Regions from separate parts of the Homo sapiens genome. Here region 2 is linked to region 1. Evidence: promoter capture Hi-C in human tissues and cell types (Jung and others, 2019). All regions are on one chromosome and are shown on one strand. The core of a region is centred on a gene start or on the middle of the fragment in contact, and the rest is flanking DNA. Distances in the headings are between cores, read along the strand shown. Region 1 holds the start of RDH16 (retinol dehydrogenase 16). Region 2 has its middle 15 kb from the start of SDR9C7.

What was found. The method cuts DNA at HindIII sites, captures the fragments that hold promoters and counts their contacts. A contact is called where the count stands out against the background at its distance.
Region 2: a fragment that was not itself captured here is called in contact with the fragment with the promoter of RDH16 in region 1 in 1 of the 25 tissues and cell types used here (adrenal gland).

Annotation. Positions count from the first base shown.
Region 1 is chr12:56,956,179-56,959,348 of GRCh38, forward strand. It overlaps RDH16 (retinol dehydrogenase 16), which reads right to left and starts at 1,430. Exons shown (of 4, transcript NM_003708.5): 1 at 972-1,430. The coding sequence starts at 1,284. The HindIII fragment of the contact is 7,259 bases long and covers 1-3,170 here.
Region 2 is chr12:56,917,810-56,920,979 of GRCh38, forward strand. No RefSeq gene overlaps it. Among named protein-coding and RNA genes, the nearest start is that of SDR9C7, 15 kb to the right of the region's middle. The HindIII fragment of the contact is 7,973 bases long and covers 1-3,170 here.

The DNA of each region.
Region 1 (3,170 bases), core at 180-2,679:
TCACACTTACAGAGACGTTGGCAAATAAAAGTCCACCAAGATGACATTTATGATGAATAAAAAGCAGGAAGGAATTTCATATCCAACCACTCAGTATGGATTACATAGGTAAGGCTATTGGAAGGATACAGTATTCTAAATAATTAAATATAATTTTATAAAAACAGTCATTATGGTGGAAAAGTGTTCATCTTCTCCAGAGAATTTAAGGTGACTGAAACTAAGAACAAAATATAAAATCCTAATTTTGTATAATTGTAAAAAGGACTTATGTGTGGATGACAATTTCAGGGAAACTTGTTTTCATCTTTATTCTTTTCAGTGTTTTCCACAAAGATCATATTCTGATTTATTGTTACATAAAATAAATCCATGTTTCTTTCTTCCTCTATAATAAGACAGATGAATTAGTGTAGTGAAAAGAAGAAAGAAAGAAAAAGTAACCCCTTACTAGTTCTGCCTTCCTTAAGCAGTCCTTAAGCTGATACTCTCCTCTGAAGATGGAGATGATCGTAGCTCTCAGTGGACGCTGATGGGCCCTAGCAAAAACAAGGTAAAGTGCTGGGAACATAAGCCTGGCTCCAGCACAGGCACAGCCTCCGTGCACACTTGCAGCCCTGTGCTCCCTTCTCAACGATGCTCCAGCAAGTCTCCAGATCTCTAACCCAGGCTCTTAGCATCAAACAACACATGACTTCTGCTTAGACAGGAGGGAGAGGATAGAGAGGAATTCTGGAGAGAAAATCTCATCAGGGCAAACTCTCCCCAAGACTAGACACCTCCAATGTCGGGAGAGGTTAAGGATTGAAAAGAGATGGGGTTCAGGCAGCCTGTTAAGTGAGAAATATTAGAAAGCTACTGTTACTTCAACCTGGAAAGACACTGTAGGAATCTTCCCAGGGAGCAGACAGGAGGTGGTCCCTTCACACAGAGGGAAGACACAGACAGACTTGACAAACCTGGGTGGTTACCTTTGTCTCTCACGCACTCCTTCACCCACTGGGCGGCTGCAGCAACGCTCTCTGTCTTGGTAACATCCAGGGTCACCGTCTCCAGCCTGTCTGAAGTCTGGCCCCTCAGCTGCTCGGCTCCTTTCTCCGTCAGACATGCAGCCAGCACCCGCAAGCCTCGTGCATCCAGCTGTCTGGCCAGCAGTTTCCCGAAGCCAGAGTCACAGCCCGTGATGAACACATACTTATCTCTCAGGTGGCTCAGCACCTGCCTCTCCCGGTACCAGTGCAGAAGGTAGTACAGGCCCACGAAAACCGCCAGGTAGAGCCACATGGCTTTGCAGAGGACAGACACAGACAGGCTGTGGGGGAAACCAGAGTCTGGCCTCTGTTCAGACAGGAGGATTTAAGAACACAGAGGGCTGTGGTAGGCAGGGAAGCCCTCAGGCATTTTGGCAGGGAATCCTCACTTTCCTCCCTGATGACTGCCTTTCTGCAACATATTTATTCTGGCCCCACCTCTCTGCTCTTTGAACTGCTTTTGCAGTACTCATGCACACCTTTGCACACCTCAAGTCCTGCCCAGTAGGAAGATACTATCTTCCTACTGGGCAATGTGCCCCTAGTCTCCTGATTTCTCTCTGCCTTGCTATGCCCACTACATGCATGCTGTGTCCATGAAGGAGCACACACATATATTCACACAGGAACATACACAGAACTCACACAGGCTTACACACAGCTGCCCACACACACTCTCCATGGCAAACACACCCCTCTGCTCTAAGTACAGGGGTCAAAACTGTCTCTACAAAGCTCCGATACCAACACTCCTGGTCCATGACCTTCTGAACATAGAAAGGCCTTATTGGGTAGCTACCCATGGTTTCCAGGCACATTAGGTGGAAATCCCTCTCTGAGCCTGAGTTTCCTCATCCTGCTCCGCACCCCAGAATCAATCACTCCTCTGAAAACTAGGGCACGGTCAGGCTGTCTAGGATGAGAAGGAGAAGGCAAAGAGTGAGCAGGAACAGGTTCCCTCCTGCTATAATAGTTTTTTGGGGCAGAAGGATTGCAGGATCCCACAGGGAGAATCCAACCTCAGAGGTAAAGAAAGCAGGGAGAGGATGGGCAAATAGGAACAGCTCCGGTCTGCAGCTCCCAGTGTGACTGATGCAGAAAATGGGTGATTTCTGCATTTCCAGCTGAGGTACCTGGTTCATCTCACTGGGACTGGTTGGACAGTGCGTGCAGCCCACAGAGGGTGAGCCGAAGCAAGGCAGGGCATTGCCTTACCCAGGAAGTGTAAGAGGTCAGGGGATTTCCCTTTCCTAGACAAGGGAAGCCGTGACAGACTGTACCTGGAAAAACAAGACACTCCTGCTCAAATACTGCACTTTTCCAATGGTCTTAGCAAATGGCACACCAGGAGATTATATCCTGTGCCTGGTTTGGTGGGTCCCATTCCCACAGAGCTTTGCTCACTGCTAGTGCAGTAGTCTGAGATCAACCTGCAAGGCAGCAGCCTGGCAGGAGGAGGGTTGCTCACCATTGCTGAGGCTTGAGTAGGAAAGCAAAGCAGCTGGGCAGCTCAAACTGGGCGAAGCCCACTGCAGCAAGGCAAGGCTTTCTGCCTCTATAGACTCCACCTCTGGGAGCAGTGCATAACTGAACAAAAGGCAGCAGAAACCTCTGCAGACTTAAACATCCCTGTCTGACAGCACTGAAGAGAGCAGTGGTTCTCCCAGCATGGTGTTTGAGCTCTTAGAACAGACAGACTGCCTTCTCAAATGGGTCCCTGAACCCTGTGTAGACTAACTGGGAGACACCTCCCAGTAGGGGCCGACTGACATCTCATACAGGTGGGTGCCCCTCTGGGACGAAGTTTCCAGAGGAAGGATCAGGCAACAATATTTGCTGTTCTGCAATATTTGCTGTTCTGCAGCCTCTGCTGGTGATACCCAGGCAAACAGGGACTGGAGTGGACCTCCAGCAAACTCCAACAGACCTGCAGCTGAGGAAACTGTTTGAAGGAAAACTAACAAACAGAAAGAAATAGCTCAAAATCAACAAAAAGGACATCCACACCAAAACCCCATCTGTAGGTCGCCAACATCAAACACCAAAGGTAGATAAAACCACAAAGATGGGGAGATACCAGAGCAGAAAATCTGAAAATTCAAAAAACCAGAGTGCCTCTTCTCCTCCAAAGGATCACAG
Region 2 (3,170 bases), core at 311-2,810, 38 kb before region 1:
TGTACAGAGATGCTCCCCAGGATGAAATAAAGCAATGACAAACAATTAAATAATAGCATTACAGAACTCAAAGAATCTGCTCTGCCAGATGCTTATAGGCTATGTATTATAATCACCCTCTCTGGGCCTCAGTTTCCTCTCATTAAAACTGGAGTAATAACACCTTTCAGGATTGTTATGAAAATTAAGGTGCTGAAACAACAGATGCTGGTAAGGCTGTGGAGAAATCGGAACAATTTTACATTGTTGGTAAGAGTGTAAATTAGTTCAACCATTGTGGAAGACAGTGTAAGACAGTGTGGCGATTCCTCAAGGATCCAGAACCAGAAATAGCATTTGACCCAGCAATCCCATTCCTGGGTATATACCCAAAGGATGATAAATCATTCTACTATAAAGACACATGCACACATATGTTTACTGCACCACTACTTAACAATAGCAAAGACTTGGAACCAACCCAAATGCCCATCAATGATAGACTGGATAAAGAAAATGTGGCACGTATGCGCAATGGAATACTATGCAGCCATAAAAAATGAGATCATGTCCTTACACGTTATACAAAAATTAATTCAAGATGGATTAAAGACTTACATGTTAGACATAAAACCATAAAAACCCTAGAAGAAAACCTAGGCATTACCATTCAGGACAGAGGCATGGGCAAGGACTTCATGTCTAAAACACCAAAAGCAATGGCAACAAAAGCCAAAATTGACAAATGGGATCGAATTAAACTAAAGAGCTTCTGCACAGCAAAAGAAACTACCATCAGAGTGAACGGGCAATCTACAAAATGGGAGAAAATTTTCGCAACCTACTCATCTGACAAAGGGCTAATATCCAGAATCTACAATGAACTCAAACAAATTTACAAGAAAAAAACAAACAACCCCATCAAAAAGTGGGTGAAGGATATGAACAGACACTTCTCAAAAGAAGACATTTATGCATCCAAAAGACACATTAAAAAATGCTCATCATCACTGGCCATCAGAGAAATGCAAATCAAAACCACAGTGAGATACCATCTCACACCAGTTAGAATGGCGATCATTAACAAGTCAGGAAACAACAGGTGCTGGAGAGGATGTGGAGAAATAGGAACACTTTTACACTGTTGGTGGGACTGTAAACTAGTTCAACCATTGTGGAAGTCAGTGTGGCGATTCCTCAGGGATCTAGAACTAGAAATACCATTTGAGCCAGCCATCCCATTACTGGGTATATACCCAAAGGATTATAAATCATGCTGCTGTAAAGACACATGCACACTTATATTTATTGCGGCACTATTCACAATAGCAAAGACTTGGAACCAACCCAAATGTCCAACAACGATAGACTGGATTAAGAAAATGTGGCACATATACACCATGGAATACTATGCAGCCATAAAAAATGAAGAGTTCATGTCCTTTGTAGGGACATGGATGAAACTGGAAACCATCATTCTCAGCAAACTACCGCAAGGACAAAAAACCAAACACCACATGTTCTCACTCATAGGTGGGAATTGAACAATGAGAACACATGGACACAGGAAGGGGAACATCACACTTCGGGGACTGTTGTGGGGTGGGGGGAGGGGAGAGGGATAGCATTGGGAGATATACCTAATGCTAGATGGCGAGTTGGTGGGTGCAGCACACCAACATGGCACATGTATACATATGTAACAAGCCTGCACGTTGTGCACGTGTACCCTAAAACTTAAAGTATAATAATAATAAAATTTTAAAAAAATGAGATCATGTCCTTTGCAGGGACATGGATGAAGCTGGAAGCCATCATTATCAGCAAACTAACACAGGAAGAGAAAACCAAACACTGCATGTTCTCACTCATAAGTGGGAGTTGAACAATGAGAACACATGGACACAGGGAGGGGAACATCACACATTGGGGCCTGTCTGAGGGTAAGGGGCTAGGGGAGGGAGAGCATTAGGACAAATACCTAATGTATGCAGGGCTTAAAACCTGGATGATGGGTTAATAGGTACAGCAAACCACCATGGCACATGTATACCTATGTAACAAACCTGCAGGTTCTGCACATGTATCACAGAACTTAAAGTAAAATAAAAAATTAAAAAAAAGAAAATTAAAGTGCTTAGAACAGTGTCTGGCATGTGGTGAGCACTCTGGAAGTGCTTGCTATTGTAGCATGTGGCGAACCGCACTCTGACTCTGCCATTTATTAGCAGTGTAATCTTGTGCAAATTACTTTACCTCTGTGAGCCTCAGTTTCCTCCTCTATAACATAGGAGTAACCTCACAGGACTTGTTGCAGAGATTAAATAAAATTGAATGGATAATATGTGGGAAATTCTAAGCGCAGTGCTTGGACTGAATAAATGTCCAATAAATGCCAGTTATTTTTATTTCTATTATTTTATTGTCACACTTCTCTTATCAGGTCTAGACTTGCACCTCTTCAATCCAGTTCTTCCAATTCATTCCCCAATGGCAGCAAAAGTGGTCTTTTTAAAAAGTAAGCAGTCTCAAAATGAATCTATAGTGACAGAAACACATCAGTGGTTGTCTGGAACCAGGGTGGAGAGGAGGGATGATTAACTGCAGACAGGTACAAGGGAACTTTCTAGGATGAGAAAAATGTTTTATATTTTGACTGGTGGTGGTTGTACAGGTGTAAACATGTGACAAGACTCATCAGATGGTACACTTAGATGGATGCATTTCTTTTTATGCAAACTTTACCTCATTAATGTTGATTAGAAAAAAAGGTAAGCAGCCTCCCTGGTCATCTATTACATTGTTATATTTTCTCTTCTCCATGGCACTTATCAGTATATAAAATTATTTCATTCACTTTTTATATGTCTATTGGCCAACCCCTCCCTCCGTTAGAATGTAAACTCTTTGAGGGCAAGGACTCTGTCTTATACCCCACTATAACTCTAGAATCTGGAACCACATTTAGCACATAGTAGGAGCCTGATAAATTCTTCTTGACAGACTGACTAATGATTAAAGTCCATCAATGGTTCTACCTCCAAATTATATATTGACTTCATCTATTAGCATCATTTCTGCTAACACCATTTCAGCTTAGGGCACTATCATCTCTTGCCTGGATTATGCAATGGCCTCCTTTCTTCCACCATTGCTTCTTCATTTCAGTCTCCACAGAGCCCCCCAGTGAT